7 separate regions of the Homo sapiens genome follow, and regions 1, 2, 4, 5, 6 and 7 are each linked to region 3. Evidence: promoter capture Hi-C in 16 types of primary human blood cells and fetal thymus (Javierre and others, 2016). All regions are on one chromosome and are shown on one strand. Each heading gives the region's core, a stretch centred on a gene start or on the middle of the fragment in contact. The rest is flanking DNA. Distances are from core to core; before and after follow the strand shown. Region 1 overlaps TERB1 (telomere repeat binding bouquet formation protein 1). Region 2 has its middle 4.5 kb from the start of NAE1. Region 3 holds the start of BEAN1 (brain expressed associated with NEDD4 1). Region 4 overlaps CA7 (carbonic anhydrase 7). Region 5 overlaps NAE1 (NEDD8 activating enzyme E1 subunit 1). Region 6 overlaps PDP2 (pyruvate dehydrogenase phosphatase catalytic subunit 2). Region 7 overlaps TERB1 (telomere repeat binding bouquet formation protein 1).

Evidence for each region. Contacts are between HindIII fragments. The CHiCAGO score rates a contact against its expected background, and 5 or more counts as called.
Region 1: a fragment that was not itself captured here is called in contact with the fragment with the promoter of BEAN1 in region 3 in 10 of 17 cell types (total CD8 T cells, total B cells, neutrophils and 7 more); the score reaches 7.9 in total CD8 T cells.
Region 2: a contact is called between a fragment that was not itself captured here and the fragment with the promoter of BEAN1 in region 3, in 4 of 17 cell types (total B cells, M0 macrophages, naive CD8 T cells and 1 more). The highest score is 7.3, in total B cells.
Region 4: a contact is called between a fragment that was not itself captured here and the fragment with the promoter of BEAN1 in region 3, in 13 of 17 cell types (total B cells, naive B cells, activated CD4 T cells and 10 more). The highest score is 16.3, in total B cells.
Region 5: a contact is called between a fragment that was not itself captured here and the fragment with the promoter of BEAN1 in region 3, in 4 of 17 cell types (total B cells, non-activated CD4 T cells, naive B cells and 1 more). The highest score is 7.5, in total B cells.
Region 6: a contact is called between a fragment that was not itself captured here and the fragment with the promoter of BEAN1 in region 3, in 3 of 17 cell types (total B cells, total CD8 T cells and non-activated CD4 T cells). The highest score is 8.1, in total B cells.
Region 7: a contact is called between a fragment that was not itself captured here and the fragment with the promoter of BEAN1 in region 3, in 2 of 17 cell types (total CD4 T cells and naive B cells). The highest score is 6.3, in total CD4 T cells.

What each region holds. Positions count from the first base shown.
Region 1 is chr16:66,767,071-66,769,770 of GRCh38, reverse strand. It overlaps TERB1 (telomere repeat binding bouquet formation protein 1), which reads left to right. Exons shown (of 19, transcript NM_001136505.2): 15 at 1,603-1,667; 16 at 2,261-2,356. Among named protein-coding and RNA genes, the nearest start is that of DYNC1LI2-DT, 17 kb to the right of the region's middle. The HindIII fragment of the contact is 1,597 bases long and covers 588-2,184 here.
Region 2 is chr16:66,834,174-66,836,873 of GRCh38, reverse strand. No RefSeq gene overlaps it. Among named protein-coding and RNA genes, the nearest start is that of NAE1, 4.5 kb to the right of the region's middle. The HindIII fragment of the contact is 3,991 bases long and covers 1-2,700 here.
Region 3 is chr16:66,426,045-66,428,744 of GRCh38, reverse strand. It overlaps BEAN1 (brain expressed associated with NEDD4 1), which reads right to left and starts at 1,450. Exons shown (of 5, transcript NM_001178020.3): 1 at 1,314-1,450. RefSeq lists an enhancer at 22-622. The HindIII fragment of the contact is 13,321 bases long and covers 1-2,700 here.
Region 4 is chr16:66,853,136-66,855,835 of GRCh38, reverse strand. CA7 (carbonic anhydrase 7) reads right to left here. Exons shown (of 7, transcript NM_005182.3): 7 at 1,689-2,460. The coding sequence ends at 2,338. It overlaps LOC124903699 (a long non-coding RNA gene), which reads left to right. Exons shown (of 4, transcript XR_007065088.1): 3 at 2,151-2,431. Among named protein-coding and RNA genes, the nearest start is that of CA7, 10 kb to the right of the region's middle. The HindIII fragment of the contact is 6,670 bases long and covers 1-2,700 here.
Region 5 is chr16:66,806,839-66,809,538 of GRCh38, reverse strand. NAE1 (NEDD8 activating enzyme E1 subunit 1) reads left to right here. Exons shown (of 20, transcript NM_003905.4): 16 at 464-550; 17 at 926-1,018. Among named protein-coding and RNA genes, the nearest start is that of TERB1, 6.6 kb to the right of the region's middle. The HindIII fragment of the contact is 1,521 bases long and covers 687-2,207 here.
Region 6 is chr16:66,882,695-66,885,394 of GRCh38, reverse strand. It overlaps PDP2 (pyruvate dehydrogenase phosphatase catalytic subunit 2), which reads right to left. Exons shown (of 2, transcript NM_020786.4): 2 at 1-1,164. The coding sequence starts at 1,110. Among named protein-coding and RNA genes, the nearest start is that of PDP2, 3.5 kb to the right of the region's middle. The HindIII fragment of the contact is 5,190 bases long and covers 1-2,700 here.
Region 7 is chr16:66,784,727-66,787,426 of GRCh38, reverse strand. TERB1 (telomere repeat binding bouquet formation protein 1) reads left to right here. Exons shown (of 19, transcript NM_001136505.2): 7 at 1,142-1,202; 8 at 1,298-1,413; 9 at 1,519-1,641. Among named protein-coding and RNA genes, the nearest start is that of TERB1, 16 kb to the left of the region's middle. The HindIII fragment of the contact is 9,811 bases long and covers 1-2,700 here.

The DNA.
Region 1 (2,700 bases), core at 137-2,636, 340 kb before region 3:
TGCAATGTCATACTGTGGATTTTGGGTTTTAACTCACAGGGTATAGGGAGTGATTGAGGATTTTAAATTGAGTGGCGTAACAGATTTGAATTTTAGAAAGGATACTCAGAAAATAAAACCTAAACGGAAACCCTTTACTTGAAGTAACAATGCGTGCATTGATAATCAGCAGTATAGCAAAAACTGTTTTTAAATTTAATGTGATAAAGGGAATAGGATGTGAAGAAAATTTGGTTTGGGTTTGCCCTTTTGTTTGTTCCCTGCACTTTGTCTCTAGAACATAGTCTTTTTCCCTTGCAGTTAGTTTGTGGGGCTAGACCTGGGATTGTAGCTTTTCTTAAACCCTTTATTGGGTTGTGCTCTTCTGTTGGTTACTGTACTTGGGAAAAATGAAGAGGATGCTGCTACATTTCGGGCAGGTTGAAGGGTAAACTAAGTACCAGGAAGAAGGGTTACACCAATACCACCCCTTTTATCTGTTTCAAGACCATTCTTGATGTTAATTTTAACTTGATTGCTCAGGTATGGGAATTGGGAAGCAGTAAGATATGGTCCTGGGCCAGCCTTCTTGACCTCCATCCCAAGCTTTCCACCCATACCCTTCTTTCTCCTATAGAGTTAGCCATATTTCTTTTTCTTTTTTCTTTTTCTTTTTCTTTTTTTTTTTGAGAAAGTTTCGCTCTTGTTGCCCAGGCTGGAGTGCAATGGCATGATCTCGGCTCACCGCAACCTCCACTTCCCGGGTTCAAGTGATTCTCCTACCTCAGCCTCCCGAGTAGCTGGGATTACACGCATGTGCCACCACGCCCGGCTAATTTTTTGTATTTTTAGTAGAGATGGAGTTTCTCCATGTTGGTCAGGCTGGCCTTGAACTCGCGACCTCAGGTGATCTGCCCGCCTCAGCCTCCTAAAATGCTGGGATTACAGGCGTGAACCACCGCACCCGGCTAGGGTTAGCCATATTTCTACCTCAGCCAACTTATTAATATTTTCATCTCTTTGAAATGCTTTTTTTCTCCTATGTAGTAGCTCCTACAAATATACGTACATGGACAGATAGCTATAACTATAAAGCTACTGCTATGCCTGCTATCTGATCTACAGTTCTTGCCTTTTTCTGTACTGCCTGTTAATCATTGTGACAGTATAATCAAAACTTGTATTTATTCATCAAGGACTACAGGGTTCAAACATACAAATGTTTTGGGGGTTAGGAAGGATTTTTAAATTCAGGTCTTTAAATGATTGTTGTTAGCACTTTGCCATCCTGCACCCATGTTCATTTTTGCTCCCACTGATTTTGTTCTCTCCTTTTTGCCTTCATCTCTCCTACTTCCTTCTTTTTATAATCTTTTTCTTCCATGTTTCTTCTGGCATCAATACTATTGCCCTCTGGAGTCTTGTTTGACTCGAGCTCTAGAAACACGGCTGTAATTGTTGCAGGCCCTACGTTGGCAGAATTTGGTAGATTGTGGTAGATCGTGATTCCAGGTTGCTTTTGCCCACCAAACACCGAAAATCACAACACTGCTTACAGAAACATTGGTCCGCACACCAAACAGTATGTTTACTTTTAGTAATCTGGTGTCTATTTTCTTTTAGTGACCATGTTTTTAAACACCCAGTTCACATTGCCAAAAATATAAAGCAGCAGTTACCAGTAACAGGTATGATTAAAAATGTTTCTTTGGTTTTTTAATAAAACAGATATTTAGGTAACCAATATAGCTAAAAATGCACATTGACTGGGTGCGGTGGCTCACGCCTGTAATCCCAGCACTTTGGGAGGCCTAGGTGGGCAGATCAGCTGAGGTCAGGAGTTCAAGACCAGTCTGGCCAACATGGTGAAACCCTGTCTCTACTAAAAATACAAAAATTAGCCAGGTGCGGTGGTGGGCACCTGTAATCCCAGCTACTCTGGAGGCTGACGCAGGAGAACTGCTTCAACCCAGGAGGCGGAGGTTGCAGTGAGCCGAGATCATGCCACTGCACTCCAGCCTGGACGACAGAGTGAGACTCCATCTCAAAAAAAAAAAAAGTCCATTGCTATATTGGCCCTCTAAAGCATAAGCCACACCTTTGACTCTTTCTGTTGTAAATGCCTTCCATTAAGATCCAGAATCTTTCTGTTTATTCACCAGCATGACTGGAGGCATAGTACTAGGCTAAGGTTTATGAAAAGCTTGATATTTAATAAATCCTGAAAATATCTGATTCTTTTCATTAATCCAAAAATCCTTCATTTTGCAATTTTTTTCAGATCCATTTACATTATGTTCAGATATAATAAATAAAGAAGTAGTCAGTTTTCTAGCAACTCCCAGTTGTTCCGAAATGTTGACGTATAGGTGCTCAGGTAAGTATTTTTTTAATTGCAGTTGTTTCACAGTCAAAGCCTTTTATGATATTAACTAGAATTTTTTTTTTTTTTTGATACAGAGTCTTACTCTGTCACCCAGGCTGGAGTGCAGTGGCGCGATCTTGGCTCACTGCACTCTCCACCTCCCAGGTTCAAGTAATTCTTGTGCCTCAGCCTCCCAAGTAGCTGGGATTACAGGTGCCCACTACCACACCTGGCTAATTTTTTTTTTTTTTTTGTATTTTTTCGTAGAGCAGGTTTTACCATGTTGGCCAAACTGATCTTGAACTCCTGACCTCAAATGATCTGCCTGCCTCAGCCTCTCAAAGTGCTGGTGTTAC
Region 2 (2,700 bases), core at 49-2,548, 410 kb before region 3:
GCTGTGATTTTGTTATTTCTAGTTTTCAGTGTGGCAAATATCACTGCAGTGAACATCCTTACTTGCACATCTTTAGTATTTTTTTTTGAGACCCAGTATGATTTTTTTTTTAAGAGATGGGGTCGGCCGGGCGCGGTGGCTCACGCCTGTAATCCCAGCACTTTGGGAGGCTGTGGCGGGTGGATCTCAAGGTCAGGAGATTGAGACCATCCTGGCTAACACGGTGAAACCCCGTCTCTACTAAAAATACAAAAAAAATTAGCCAGGCGTGGTGGCGGGTACCTGTAGTCCCAGCTACTCAGGAGGCTGAGGCAGGAGAATGGCATGAACCGGGAGGTGGAGGTCGCAGTGAGCCAAGATCGTGCAACTGCACTCCAACCTGGGCAACAGAGCGAAACTCCGTCTCAAAAAAAAAAAAAAAAACACACAGTGGGGTCTCACTGTGTTGCTCAGGCTGGTCTGTCTCAAATTCCTGGCCTCGAGCAATACTTCCACCTCAGTCTCCCAAAGGACTGGGATTACAGGCATGAACCAATGTACCTGGCCTCCTTACTTATACATCTTATATGTGTCTGATGATTTCCTTGGAATAAATTGATAGAGGTAGAATTACCAAATCAAATGATATATACATTGCTAGGAACATATTTTAAAATGTACAAAGTATGATGGCAATAGTTTCAGAAATTTATTCTTTAATTCAATAAACATTTATTGAAGATTTATTAGATGTCAACTGCTGGGCCAGGCACAGGTGATACAACTGTGAACATTATAGACTTATAGCTGCCTCAAGGAGCTTATGGGGTTGGGGAGAGAGGCAAGAGATCAGCCAATGAGGACCAGGGTGAGAAGGGATAGGATGTGCAAGGACAGGCAGAGAGGGCTAGTGGCCTGGGAGGATGTCCTGGGTTATGACTTCTTCCTGGCTGGTCTCCCACAGACTATAATCTCTGTAAGCACAGAGCTAGCCCCAAACTTCCTGACAGCCCAAAGGTCCAGTCTGCCCTCGTTGAGATCAACTGGACTGGATAAAATAACAGATCTGCACTGGGGTCTGGTCAGATCTGTTGGGGGTATTTATTTCTTTTTGTTTGAGACAAGGTCTCACTCTGTCACCCAGACTAGAGTACAGTGGTGCAGTCATAGCTCACTGCAGCCTCCAACTCCTGGGCTCAAGTGATCCTCCCACCAAGTAGCTGGGACTACAGGTATGCCACTATGCCTGGCTAATTTTGTTTGTTTGTTTGTTTGAGATGGAGTTTCGCTCTTTCACCCATGCTGGAGTGCAGTGGCGCAATCTCGGCTCACTGCAACCTCTGCCTTCCGGTTTCAAGCGTTTCTCCTGCCTCAGCCTCCTGAGTAGCTGGGATTATAGGCGCCCACGACCACGCCAGGCAAATTTTTATATTTTTAATAGAGACAAGGTTTCACCATATTGGCCAGGCTGGTCTTGAACTCCTGACCTCATGATCTGCTCACCTCGGCCTCCCAAAGTGCTTGGATTATAGGTGTGAGCCACAGCACCCGGCCACATTCTTTAGTTTTTGTAGAGACGGGGTCTTGTTATGTTGCCCAGGCTGGTCTCTAACTCCTGGCCTCAAGTGATCCTCCTGCCTTGGCCTCCCAAAATACTGCAGGTGTGGGACTACAGGTGTGATTACAGGTGTGAGCCACCGCACCAGACTGGGGTATTTGTTTCTAACCCCTGCACCACCTCTTAATCTTTGTTACTTCACTCTTCTCCCCAAACATCTGCCCTCTGTCTGTAAAACGGGGTTAGCAGCAATATCTGTTGCATTGGGTGGTTGTGAGCTCACGAGGTGATGCATGTCAGGGGCCTGCCTGGCATCATAGTAAGTGCTCAGAAAGCCAGGGTAGGATCAAGCATGTATCAGAATCACCTGGATGATTTGTTAAAACAGTTTCCTGGGCCTCACTCTACAGTTTCTGATTCAGCAAGTATGGATAAGGTCCAAGAATTTGTGTTTCTTTTTTTTTCAGAGACAAGGTTTCGCCATGTCACCCAGCCTGGTTTCGAGCTCCTGGGCTCAAGCAATCCTCCTGCCTTAGCCTCCTAAGTGTTGGGATTACCGGAGTGAACCACCTTACCTGGCTTTCTTTTTTTTTTTTTAATACTTAATTTTTTTTAAGAGAGGAATGTCTCACTCTGTTGCCCAGGTTGGAGTGCAGTGGCGAGATCATAGCTCACTGCAACCACAAACTCCTGGGCTCAAGTGATCCTCCCACCTTAGCCTTCCAGGTAGCTAGTACTACAGGCATACACCACCATGCCTGGCTAATTTTTAATTTTTTTTTTTCTTTTTGTAGAGACAGGGTCTTGCTATGTTGCTCAGGCTAGTCTCAAACTCCTGGCCTCAAGGAATCCTCCTGCCTTGGCCTCCCAAAGTGCTGGAATTACAGTCATGAACCACTGTACCCAGCCAAGAATTTGCCTTTCTTTTTTTTTTTTTTTTTTTTTTTGAGACGGAGTCTCACTCTGTCGCCCAGGCTGGAGTGCAGTGGCGGGATCTCGGCTCACTGCAAGCTCCACCTTCCTGGTTCACGCCATTCTCCTGCCTCAGCCTCCCGAGTAGCTGGGACTAGAGGCGACCACCACTGCGCCCAGCTAATTTTTTGTATTTTTAGTAGAGACGGGGTTTCACCGTGGTCTCGATCTCCTGACCTCATGATCCACCC
Region 3 (2,700 bases), core at 201-2,700:
CACCTCAGGACACCTGTAGCCCACCACAATTGGCCACTGGCTGCGTGCCAGGCACCAGGCTACATACCCTCACCAGCATCATCTCATTTAATCCTCCCAACTCACCTTCCCCATGTTCCAGATGGGGAAACTAAGGCTCAGAGAGGTTTGTGTCTTGCTTAAGGTTGTACAGCCAGGAAGTCAGCCAAGCCCACCTTCTGGTTCCAAATCCCTTAAACATCCCGCTCACAACAGACTCCTGCTTACTTTCAGATGAGGAAACTGAGGCACAGGGTGGTGAAGTCTCTCGTTCCAGCAGAGCAGTTATGTTTGAGGAGTGAGTCCAGAGCGGCATGCTCTCGGCAGGGGCTCATCGGAAATCGTGGCTCAAGAGCAAGGATCCCTGAACCCCTGCCTCTCACACCAGTTACTTGCGCCCTCCCTTTCCCAGCCTGCGCCCCGCCACCCACGCCGGCACCCGCCCGAGATGGACAGGGCAGTCCCTGGTCCTCACCGCTCTCCAGCCTCCAGACCGCAGAGCCCGATAGGGAAGGAGGAAGGGCAGCGAGAGTCAGCCGGGTGTGGGGTGGGCCCTGCCCCTGGGGAGCGGCGGCGGTGCCACTCAGCGCTGCGCAGCCAGCCTGAGCTGCCTGCCGCCTCGCCTCGTACTCAGCCTCGGGTCCCTCTGACAGCGCAAGGGAAAGTCTGTCCCAAAGTGGGAGAAGGTGCGGAGGGCGCGCTCTCTCTCCGACGCTCGGTGCTGAGACAGAGGCACGGAGACAGGGGCATACCCCAGGCGACCTGCTCGTCGAAGGGTCAAACTTCCTAGCTCAAAGGGGTGCGGGTGGGTTCAAACTCCAAACTCCGTGAAGCCCCAGCCCCTTTCCTCTCCCACCCCGACCGAGAGTGCGCCCTAGTTTTCCCTTCTTGGTTGGGTTGTTCAGGGGTCCCCGAAACCGAGGGCAAGCTGCTGGGGAGGCTGTCTTGGGTTCCCCAAATGCGGTTGATGCTCGTCGGGGACTCGAGTCAGGCAGAAAACCTGGATACCTCCCCTTCCCCGAGGCCCGAGGGCGCGATCAGGGTCAGCCTCGGCTCGCGCAGATCCCAGTGGCCAGCCCGGGGTCGAGGGTCCGCGGGAGACCCGGGATCCCGCTCCGTTCCGAGCGCGCTGCGGTTCCGTTCCGGACCGCGCATCCGCCCGCCCCGCGCACCGAGGCTCCGCGCGGCGCGCCCCCGGGTGTGTCGTTCGCCGGTACCACCGCAGAGCGCGGGGGAATGGGGCCGGGACCCCCCGCCCGCCCCTCCCCCGCGCCGCCCAGCCCCACGCCCCTTACTCGGCTTGGCTGCAGCGCTCCGCTCCGTGCGCCGCAGTGCCGGCTCCAGCTTCGGCTCCAGCTCCGGTTCCCGCCCCGGCTCCGGCTCCCAGTCCGGTTCCCGCTCGGAGGCCACTGCGCTCGGGCTCGGGCGTCGCGGGGGGCGCGCCGCTACGCTTCGGCCTGCTGGGCGCGCAGGGGCGGGGCGGGGCGGGCCAGGCGGGGCCAGGCGAGCCGGGCCGACCAGCCGCCCGCGATCCCGGGCCGAGGCAGCGGCGGCGGCGGCTTCCCAGGCCCCGGCCCTGGCCCTGGCCCTGCCCTGCCGCAGCCCCGCCCGGCCGCCCGTCGTCCCCGCGCCGCCGCCCACGCCACCGTCACCGGCCCCGGCCCCCCTCGGCGGCGGCGCGGCTCCCGGGCCTCAGCACCGCGGCGCCGCGGCCCGGGTCACTCCGAGATGCGGGGCGGGGGGCGCGGGTGCGGGGGAGGGCCGAGCCGCGCCCCTTTGCGCACAGCCAGCCCGACACCCACACAGCAGCAGGCGGGGCAGGGCGGCGAGGAGGCCGGGAAATGCGGGAGGCCGACGCTCCAGTCAGACGTGTGAAGAGGACACACAGGCGTGTGTAGGGAATGACACACGGACGCGAGCGGGGAGCCACTGACACGTGCAGAGAAGGGTAGACAAACGAGGTGTCAGGGAAGGACAGCCAGACAGGTTGGACCGAGGCTAGGCTGGGCATTTGAGCAGGGGACCCCTGTCGCGGGCAAAGAGCAAAGTGCGGGATGGAGAGGGGGACCCAGCGTGGCTGGGCCGCTGGCAGGGGCAGGCGAGCCTGGCAGGGCTTCCCGCTCGCGGTTGCTGGCAGGTGAGTTTTGGGATTCCAGCTAGGCCTGGCCCAAACCTTCCTTCGGAGCCACCAGCAGGCCTGTTTCCTTCACCCCGTCACCCTCCCTGTGCCCCCGTTCCCCGCTGCCCAAACGTCAGGGCATAGGGCTCAGCCCTGGCAGGTGGAAGCCGGCCCCGAGGGGATGCCTGGCTCAGGCCGGGGTTCCAGGCTTCCAGGACCTGCTCTGTCCCCACCCTGCTTTGGGGCCTTGGACGAATCCCAGCCCATCTCTCAGGCCTCCCTGTCCTCATTAGGATATTGCTCCCAATGATTGCACCCCTACTGTGTTGGGGTGCTCGCCAGCGTGGAGGAGTTATTTATTTAACCTCCGCCACTTGCCTGGGAGCGCCAGGAGGGCAGCGTCTGGGTAGGGCTGCAGGGGTCTGCACAGAGTGGGCACTCAGTGAATTTGCTGCAGGAATTGATGAAATGTGTTGTTGCTAACACTCTCTGAACCACTACTGTTGATGAGGAAACTGGGGCTTAGGAGGCAAGGGGAGTCAAAAGCTGGGTTCGTTTCAAAA
Region 4 (2,700 bases), core at 198-2,697, 430 kb before region 3:
GTTCGGACATTCCATCTCCCCGCAGCCCCCTCCACTGTCCCTTTCTCCCCCTTCACAACTAAACTTATGCATGTGAGGTCCCAGTTTCTCACCTCCCCTCACTCCTCAGCACCCCCAGTGTCTGTCTCCGGCTCCTGCCGCTGTCTCATCTGGGTCACAATCATCACTTGGTCTCTAAGCCCAACTGTGAACTTGCCCTTGGGCACTTTTTTGGACTTGGACTAGGGACTAGGGTGAGGATGCACATTTAAAAAAAAGCACTCTAGGGCCAGGCACGGTGGCTCACACCTGTAATCCCAGCACTTTAGGAGGCCCAGGTGGGTGGATTACTTGGGGTCAGGAATTCGAGACCAGCTTGACCAACATGGTGAAACCCCATCTCTACTAAAAATACAAAAATTGGCCGGGCATGGTGGTGCGCACCTGTAATCCCAGCTACTCGGGAGGCTGAGGCAGGAGAATTGCTTGAACCTGGGAGGCGGAGGTTGCAGTGAGCTGAGATCATGCCACTCACTTCAGCCTGGGCTACAGAGCAAGACTCCGTCTCAAAAATAAATAAATAAATAAATAAATAAATAAATAAATAAATAAATAAGTAAAATTAAATAAAAATAAAAATAAAACCCCCTCTTGGGGTTGTGCGTGTGCAGGGCCTGGGCCTGAAGGCACATGCCCCCTTAGATTTTCCTTCCAGGACCCCACAATGCTGCGTGTCCAATGTGGCCAGCTCCCTGTAGGGTTCCCAGAGCAAGTGAAGGCTCCACTTTCTGCTCAGGGATATGCCCTGGTCTCCTCTCTATCCTGAACAGCCAAACACTGTCTTTTGGGCACCACCTCCTAAATCTCTCTCATCCAGCCCTCTGTCTCCCACCTCCCTCCACCCTGTCCCCTCCCGCCTGGACACAGGCCACCCCTTGCTCCCTGCCACCATTCCTGCCTGCCCATCCGCATTCCTCAGGGATGTTCCCCATTTGCAGGCCTGGCCCTGCCCCTCCTCTACTATAAGCCCTTGGTAGCTCCCCGTCAGCCTGGGGAGGGGGTCCCAGGTTTCCCCCAGGGCTCTAGCCCCTTTGAGCCTTTTGAGCCCCACAACCACACTGGGCTCTCTCTCACCTCTGAGCCTGCACACTTGCCCTTCCCTTGGCCTCAAACATGCTGTTCCCTTCTATCTGATTTGGAATACTGGTTGGAATTTCATTTCTTCCTTTCTTTCTGTTTGAGAGGGCCTCGCTCTGTCGCCCAGCCTGGGGTACAGTGGTGCGACCTCAGCTCACTGCAACCTCTGCCTCCTGGGTTCAAGCGATTCTCCTGCCTCAGGCTCCTGAGCAGCTGGGATTACAGGTGCACACCACTATCACCCAGCTAATTTTTGTAATTTTAGTAGAGACGGGGTTTCAGCAGTTGGCCAGGCTGCTCTCGAACTCCTGAGCTCAAGTGATCCACCTGCTTTGGCCTCCCAAAGTGCTGGGACTGTAAGCGTGAGCCACCACGCCTGACCAGAATTGCATTTCTTTGCTGAGTGACATGGTCTTCCCCTCTCATCTGCTCCCATAGCCCCTTCCCTGCCCTTTGTGTAACCCTCACCTGCTCACCACTCATATCCCTCCCAACACATAGTGCTTAACTCACCACCATTGCTCCCCAAAGCCTAGGACGGTACTAGAGACAGCACAAGCACTCAATTGGTATTTGTTGCATGGATACATTAATTTATTAATTCAACAGGGATGGACTGTCATGTAGGTGGCTTTGGTGACTGGGTGGGGACAAGGGGAGATACTGTATAAGCTATAGCCAGGGCCTGCCCGTGGCAGCAGGTGGCTGGAGGGAGAAGGCCACGTCACCTCCAGCATGCTGGGTGCTGATTTTAATGGCCTGGCAGTGAGGTGCGTGCATGGCAGAGCCTGCAGAAGAGGTAATGCCGAGAGGGCAGCTCTGCCCACCTCTAATTATTGCTTGAGTCTCTCTGGTAGTGTCAGCTGCCCGCCCCAGGGAGCTCAGTCTCCTCCATCACAGTGTGCGCTCGGGGTGGGGCTGCTGCCACTGCCAGTGGGGAAGACCAGAGGAGGTTCCCAGGGTCTTTGGGTCTTGGAGAGCAGAGGCAGCCCCAGGCTTGGACCCTGCTTAGCTCCTGTCCTTCCTGTCCCCAGGGCAGCTGAAGGGTGCCCCAGACTCAAGGGTCCCATCCAGAAGCCTCCAGGGTGACCAAGGAGCAAACTGGCTGAAGGAGGGTCCCCAGCACCCCCCAGGGAGGAAGCCTCAGATGGTTTGGTGTCTGCTGACATGGAAGCCCTTGAGAAGATGGTGCCCTAGTGGCCGGCTAGGCAGATGGGCAGCTCAGGCCCGGAAGGAGGCCTTTACCACGCGGCCCTTCAGTGGCTGTGGTGGCCGGAAGTTGTTCACCATGTGGATCCTCTCATCGTCCTCCGAGGTAAAAAGCAGGCTCCGGAACTTCCCCATCTTGAGGAAGCAGAAGGAATGCTCAGGGCAGATTGGGGGTGCTGTGGTCCTCTATGACCCCAGATGCATCATCTGGCATACCTGCCCAGCCAGCTCTACCCCTCCCTCCTCCTTCCCTTAGGGTCTGTCCCTACTCTTCCCCACTCATTTTTCTCTGCAGGACCCTCATTTATTTACTCACTAAAGGGTCTGGGCTCTGCTTTACCTAGTTCTAGTTCCAAGCCCATCTAGCTAAGACTT
Region 5 (2,700 bases), core at 198-2,697, 380 kb before region 3:
AAATTTCAATAATACAAAGCTTAAAGTCATTACATATATCAAGAGTACAATTCATAAACCTCTCTCCTTTAGGACTACTTATCCATAATAATGATGAAAACTATTATTTTTAGAGCCATATCAGGCATTGTGCTAGAGATGCACTTTATACAGATGTCACATTTAATCTGTAGAACAATTCTCAAAGGTAAACAGTATCATCCCCATTTTACACTTGAAAACTGAGGTTCAGAGAGGCCATCACCTTACTTGCTTCTGAACTGGTTGTAGTGCCAGGGATATAAATTTAAGGTGATTCATGTTCTAGTGCTTTCTCTGCTATTAGAACCAAGGAGAAAACATTTCTTCACATTCTCATGTCTGAGAAGGGTATACACATAATTCTCTGTTCTTAAAGTCACCTGTGATTCATAATATTCACCAGTCACAGTCATTACTTCCAGAATATCTTTCCTCTGTTCAGGCAGCAATTCTGCATTTCTTCGAGTGGTAAGATGTCGATCCTTAGCTGAAGAATATGGTTTGGATACAATTAACAAGGATGAAATTAGTAAGTATAATAGCCTTCTGATTCTGGGTTAATTTTAATTAATTTAAAAGATATAAATATTTTGTGTATAATAGTGTTGAGTATATGGTGATGATATTAAAGATAACGTAAACATATTCTAATTTTATTCTAAGCTTATCTAGGTAATTATAATTTATATATTATATGAAACTTAATGTATGCATAAAGTCATATTTAGGTCACTGAGTCCATTGTGTGATATGTATGAGTTAAAGTCAGTATGTTACTACTTCAGTAGAGATTGTGTGACTCCAGTTAATAGTCCTGAAACTCAAGTATATAGTAAATTCAGCCCTTCATTGTTTGTTACATTGCAAATTAACCAAATTAAACTGAAATTTTTTTTCCTTTCAGTTTCTAGCATGGACAATCCAGATAATGAAATAGTGTTGTACTTAATGTTACGGGCTGTTGATAGATTTCATAAACAACAGGGTAGATATCCAGGTAAGAATAGCAATTGAATTACCAGATATAATAAGATCTTCAATAAAACATTTAAATTGAAAGTGTTCTCAGGGTATTTATAATAGTGTTGCTTGAATTTCACATTGTAAACAGATTACACCCCAAACGTTCCCCAGTGAAGAACCACCTTTTGTTTTTTAAGTTTAACTATTTGCAAAATAGTGTTCGATTCTAAACTATTACAGGGGGATGTTGGTTGAATATGTATAGAAGAAAACTTTTTTCTGTCATTTTCCATAGTTTGTTACTAAGACTCACACTGAGTTTAATTTAGTGGAATAGGAAAGCCACAAGAAATATGCTGGCCAGGCATAGTACGGTGGCTCACGTCTGTAATGCCAGCACTTTGGGAGACTGATTCAGGCAGATTGCTTGAGCCCAGGAGTTGGAGACCAGCGTGGGCAACATGGTGGAACCCCATCTCTACTGAAGATACAAAAAATTAGCCAGACATGGTGGTGTGCACTTGTAGACTCAGCTACTCGGGAGGATCACCTGAGCCTGGGAAGTTGGGGCTACAGTGAGTTGTGATTGTGCCACTAAACTCCAGCCTGGGTGACTGTGGTGAGACTGTCTCAAAAAAAAAAAAAAGTATGCTACTAATTTCTGAACTCAATAACTCTGAAGATGTAGGAATTTCTTTGTTTAGTTATCTACTTTTTATCTTCAGCAAATGTAGTCATTGGAGAATTGGCATAATCTCAAAGATCTGAGGTTGCTCAGAATATTTTTCTTTGGGATGATAATTTTAATTGTGCAGGATTATTGCATAGCAACACATTCTAGGGGTATCATAAAACCTGCTGCTCCATCTGATACAGTGTGTCTCCAGAGTTTATAGTCTTTTTTTTTTTTCTTTTGAGACGGAGTCTCGCTCTGTCGCCCAGGCTGGAGTGCAGTGGCGTGATCTCAGCTCACTGCAACCTCCGCCTCCTGGGTTTAAGCAGTTTTCCTGCCTCAGCCTCCCGAGTAGCTGGGACTATAGGCGCCCGCCACCTCGCCCAGCTAATTTTTGTATTTTTAGTAGAAACAGGGTTTCTCCGTGTTGGCCAGGCTGGTCTCGAACTCCTGACCTCAAGTGATCCTCCTGTGTTGGCCTCCCAAAGTGCAGGGATTACACGCATGAGCCACTGCGCTGCCCAGAGTTTATAGTCCTAACAAGCAAGCTTACTAGAAGAAAAAAAAAGAATAAACACCAAATATGTATTGCTTTATTTGTATTATTTGATTAGTATTTATTTCAGTTATCTGTTGCATAACAAACCACTTCAAAACTTAGTGGTTTAAAACAATAAATAGTGTCGTGATTTTGTGGGTTGCCTGGTCTCAGGCAGTTCTCCTTGGGGAGGCATGCAGTTGCTTGAGCCTGGGGGTGGAGTCATTCTGAAGGCTTGACTGACTGAGTTAGACATGCAAGAAGACATTTTTACTCATGTAACTAGCACCTTAGTCAGAACAGTGGGAATAGCTGGCGGCTGGTCAGGTATCTCTTCACGTGGCTAGCTTGGACTTCCTTTTGGCATGTCAGTTGGCTTCTGCAGTTAACATTCCAAAAAACCCAAGTGGAAGGTACAGGGCTTTTTATGACCTAGCTTTGGAAGTCATACAGCATCACTTATGAGCTAAGTAACTTAATCTCTCTGTGCTTTAGTTTTCTCTTC
Region 6 (2,700 bases), core at 4-2,503, 460 kb before region 3:
GGTATTGAAGCCCCTCTCCAGAATGCTGCGCTGCAACTCTTTACTCCACTTCAGCTGAACATCCCCAAAGGCCCTGCAGGGGATGAGGACGCCCAGTAGCCTGTCCTCCATGATGATCGTCCTGTCCTCTGACTCAGGGTGCTCCCTCTTTAGCCGGGACAGCTCGGCCTGGTTCCAGGCATTGTGGTCACGTGTAAGGGGCAGACAAGACCACATGCCATTGTCCTCTTGGACACCAAGGATGGCTCGGCAGTCACCAGCATTTGCCACGTGCAAGTGAATTCCATCAACATGGGCCATGCAAGCTGTTGCCCCAGAGAAAGCAACCTGGAGTGACAGGTTCCTTGTCACCTCATCTTCCAGGGGGGCCTGGATTTCCAGCGAGATGTCAGAATCCAGTCTCTGGAAGGAGTACATTAATGCTTCTTCAATGCTTAGTCCCATTTCCATGTGCAAATCAAGCAGTTCCTGCCAATAGACACGGAGGTGGTCAAGATGCACAGATGTGACATCCTTGTAGATACTGTCCCCTGGGTGCTTGAGCCAATGCAGGATGGGCAGCAAGGGTTTCATGCTTTCCATAGCTCCCTCCATGTGCTCCAGGGTCTGGTGGGACATCAGGGACACTGCCACATAGTAGAAGAGCCTCTCGCTCACTGCTTGGGCACATGCATGACCACCATGTCCATCGAAGATGCCAAACATCAGTCCATTGGTTTGCAGGCAGGAGGCTACACCTCGCCGGTCCTCCACTGGGGAATTGGCAGCCAGCTGGTTGCTCTCAAACCGCAACACTGAATTTGGGACTCTGCTTTCAAGGTCAAGAATCTTGTGGGTTGTCTCGCCAGCTCGAAGCACTTCATTTATCTGCTCAGGGCTGAGTTGCAAGTGAAAATCATCTTCCTCTGTTGATGTGTGTCTGTAGGCTTTGCACAGAGTAAAGCCACCACATGGGGAACTGTTTAGGGTGGGTGGCACCCGGGAAAAGAGCCTCCATTTTAATTTATTCCTATTTGAGACATACCTGGAGTATAAGCGTCTACCCCCTTGCAATGTGGCAATGCTGTTCCTTGTAGAATTTAAGATCCAGTAGGACACAGTACTTGACATTCTGAAACTATACCAGCAAATGTGTTCCTTCAGCAAAAAAGGATATTTTTAAACCTAAAAATTAAAAAGTTGAAGTTTCAAATTTAATTTCTTTTTTTTTTTTTTTTTTTTGAGACGTAGTCTCGCTCTGCCGCCCAGGCTGGAGTGCAGTGGTGTGATCTCTGCTCACTGCAAGCTCCGCCTCCCAGGTTCATGCCATTCTCCTACCTCAGACTCTGGAGTAGCTGGGACTACAGGCGCCCGCCACCACACCTGGCCAATTTTTTGTATGTTTAGTAGAGACAGGGTTTCACCATGTTAGCCAGGATGGTCTCGATCTCCTGACCTTGTGATCCACCTGCCTCGGCCTCCCAAAGTGCTGGGATTACAGGCGTGAGCCAAAGCACCCAGCCACAAATTTAATTTCTTAAAAATACTGACTTCTGAAAACATTTGCTAATATCCTGAACAAAAATGACTTAGAATAAACTATTTAAAATACACTAAACTCACTCTCACCAGCAGACTATAAGTGTTCATTTAAATATCTGCTTCGGGGGCCAGGCCTGGTGGCTCATGCCTGTAATCCTAGCACTTTGGGAGGCCAAGGTGGGTGGATAGCTTGAGCCCAGGAGTTCGAGACTAGCCTGGGCAACATGGTGAAACCCTGTCTCTCCAAAAAAATAAAAAAAATAAAAAAATTGCCAGGCATGGTGGTGTGTATCTATAGTCACAGCTACTTGGGAGGCTGAGGTAGGAGAATCATCTGAGCCTGGTAAGTTGAGGCTGCAGAAAGCAGTGATTGTGCCACTGCAGTCTAGCCTGGGCCTCACTAGAGAGGGAGTGAGACCCTGTCTCAAAGAAAACAAAAACAGGCCTGACGCGGTGGCTCACGCCTGTAATCCCAGCACTTTGGGAGGCCGAGGTGGGCTGATCACGAGTTCAGGAGATCGAGACCATCCTGGCTAACACAGTGAAACCCCGTCTCTACTAAAAATACAAAAATTTAGCTGGGTGCAGTGATGGGCGCCTGTAGTCCCAGCTACTCAGGAGGCTGAGGCAGGAGAATGGCGTGAACCCAGGAGGCAGAGTTTGCAGTGAGCCAAGATTGCACCACTGCACTCCAGCCTGGGCGAGAGCGAAACTCCGTCTCAAAAATAAATAAATAAATAAATAATCTGCTTCGGGCATAGTGGCTCATACCTGTAACCACTCCAAAGGCTGAGGCGGGAGGATCACTTGAGCCTAGGAGTTCCAAGACCAGCCTGGGCAACATAAGGAGACCTGGTTTCTACAAAAAATTTTTTTACAAATTAGTTGGGCATGGTGGCGCACACCTATAGCCCCATTCACTTGTAAGGCTGAGGTGAGAGGATTGCTTAAGCCCTGGAGGTCAAGACTGCAATGAGCTGTGCTCCTGCCACTGCACTCCAGCCTGGGCAACAGAGCAAGACCCTGTCTCAAAAACTAAATTTTATATACATGTATATTTCCCCACTAGTCTATAAACTCCATGACTCAAGCAACTATGGCTGCCTTACTCACCAACAGCTTTCCAGTGCCTGGCCCTGTACCCGGCACACACTAAGTCCTCAAATACTGGCTAAATAT
Region 7 (2,700 bases), core at 141-2,640, 360 kb before region 3:
GCCAGGGTGGTGGATCATCCCTGTAATCCCAGCATTTTGGGAGGCCAAGGTGGGAGGATCCCTTAAGCCCAGGAGTTTGAAACCAGCCTAGGTAACATACTGAGACCTTGTCTCTCTACAAAGAAATAAAAAAAAAAAAAAAAGAAAAAGAAAAAGAAAAATTAACTGGGTGTGGTGGCACACACCTGTACTACCAGCTACTTGGGAGGCTGAGGTGGGAGAATTGAGTGAGCTCTGGAGGTTGAGGCTGCAATGAGCTGTGATCAAGCCACTGTACTCCAGCCTGAGTGACAGAGCGAGACTCTGCCTCAAAAAAAAGAAATGCTTCTAGGTAGGCACAGCAGGTCACATCTGTAACCCCAGCACTTGGGGAGGCCAAGGCTGTGTAACCCCTTCCCCATGTCACCCAGGTCCCAGCACGACCATATTCAGTACCAGCAGACTCTCTCATGCCACCCTTCCTGCTAGAGGGGAAATGTGGGCATCAATAGAGGGGGAAGTCTGGGTGGTTGTAGGGCTCAAGGCCCAAACCCCCAGGGTGTTGGGTGGGGGTAGGGCAGCCTCAGGGAAGCGAGGCATCAGGTTGTATCCTTTGAAGGGGAGAAGTCAAGCCTCACCTTCTTCTGCTAGCAGTGGCTGGTCTCTCACCCTCTAGTCCTCTGCTATTATTGTTTCCATGGGGAGGATCACAGACCCAGGCACAATGGTAGTCTGAGCAGGCTCAGGTAATTCAGCTAAGCCTCTTGCCAGAGAGGCCTGAGGAGGCGCCTTCTTGCCAGGCGTGCACTTAAAAAAAATGTTTCTAGATTTTGTTTTATTTTGGAAAAACTAGAAAAGGTTGAATTTATTTATTTTTCCATTTTGGAACTTATCTTGATACTGCAACACAGAACCATGATGCAAAGTAAGAGTTTTGTAATTTTTAGAGGAAATTTGAATACAATTAGTCTCTAAGCAGTAGTGACATATTTTTCATAATAATCTTGATTGCAGATTTTTATCCACCGTAATTCTATGTTATACTTTGTAATACTTTAAAGTTGTTTAAAAGTTATTTATTAAAATAAAACTTAACTGTTCTTCATTTCTGCAAGACTATTTGTAAATAAAACTCATATTTTTATATGGCTATTTTTTTAAGGGACCGGACAAACACTTGTGAGAGAAACAGGTTGTATTACAGTTCTGTCACGGTTATTCAGGTAAACAAATACAAATTTCTTTTTGTTAATTATTCATTACTTAGGACCTTAACACATTTGTATTAATTTACTTTCTTTTCTTTTTAACCTAATAGGACAGTTATTTCAAAACATGAGTTGGATTTGTCAGATAAAAATGTTTTCCAGAGTTATCAGTTGTGGTCTTCAGTGTGTAGTACTCTGTGTGTCTGTGTCAACAATCCTCAAAATGGTAATTATCTGTCATGTTTAAATATAAAAATAAAGATAAAAACAAATGAAAACTGATATTTTCCAATTGTCATATTAAATCATGATTGACTTTGTCTTCTTTCAGATGAGAATCAAATGTTTTGCTGTTCCCTTTTTCCACATGCTAATGAATGGCTAAAAAATTGCACGACACCTGAGATAATTCGCCCTATTTGCTCATTTATTGGACTCACTCTTGCAAATAACAGTAAGTGTTCGTTATTTTCTAGGTCATAGTTGAAGAAACATATTTCAAAGCATAATAAAAACGATTGAATTTATTATTGAATCAATTGAATTCTTGTAATTTGGGTTATTTTGGATGTATTTAGACTCTTAAAGATAAGAAAATCTTAAAAGTAGATATTTTTAGAAGGATATTGGGAAGATGGTGGTAGCAGCATCATTTTTTTAATCTCCCCAGATACTCTCATAAAACGGAGAAACCAGATAGCAAGACTAAAAACCCATAGAGTGTGTTCTCTGATCACAAGGTAATTAAATTAGAAATGAATAAAAACAAAACATCTAGAAAAGCCCCAAATATCTGGTAATTAAACAACTTAGTACTAAAATCTGTGAGTCAATGCATAAATCATAAGGAAAATTATAAAATGTTTCTAACTGAATGATAATGAAAATACAACATTAGGCCAGGCATGGTGGCTCACGCCTATAATCCCAGCACTTTGGAAGACTGAGGCAGGCGGATCACTTGAGGTCAGGAGTTCAAGACCAGCCTGACCAACATGGTAAAACCCCATCTCTACTAAAAATACAGAAATTAGCTGGGCATGTTGGCAACAATTAGCTGGGCATGGTGGCAGACACCTATAATCCGAGCTACTTGGGAGGCTGAGGCAGGAGAATCGCGTGAGCCCAGGAGACGGAAGTTGCAGTGAGCCAAGATCACACCATTGCACTCCATCCTGGGCAACAGAAAGAGACTGTCTCAAAAAAAAAAAAAAAAAAGCCAGACGCAGTGGGTCACACCTGTAATCCCAGCACTTTGGGAGGCTGAGGCAGGTGGATCGCTTGAGGTCAGGAGTTTGAGACCAGCCTGACCAACATGTGAAACCTTGTCTCTACTGAAAATACAAAAATTAGCCGGGCACCTGTAATCCTAGCTACTCAGGAGGCGGAGGCAGGAGAATCTCTTGAACCTGCAGAGGCTGAGATCACACCACTGCACTCCAGCCTGGGTGACAGAATGAGACTCCGTTTCAAAAAAAAAAAAAAAAAAAATTAAAAATTAAAAGAAATCTGT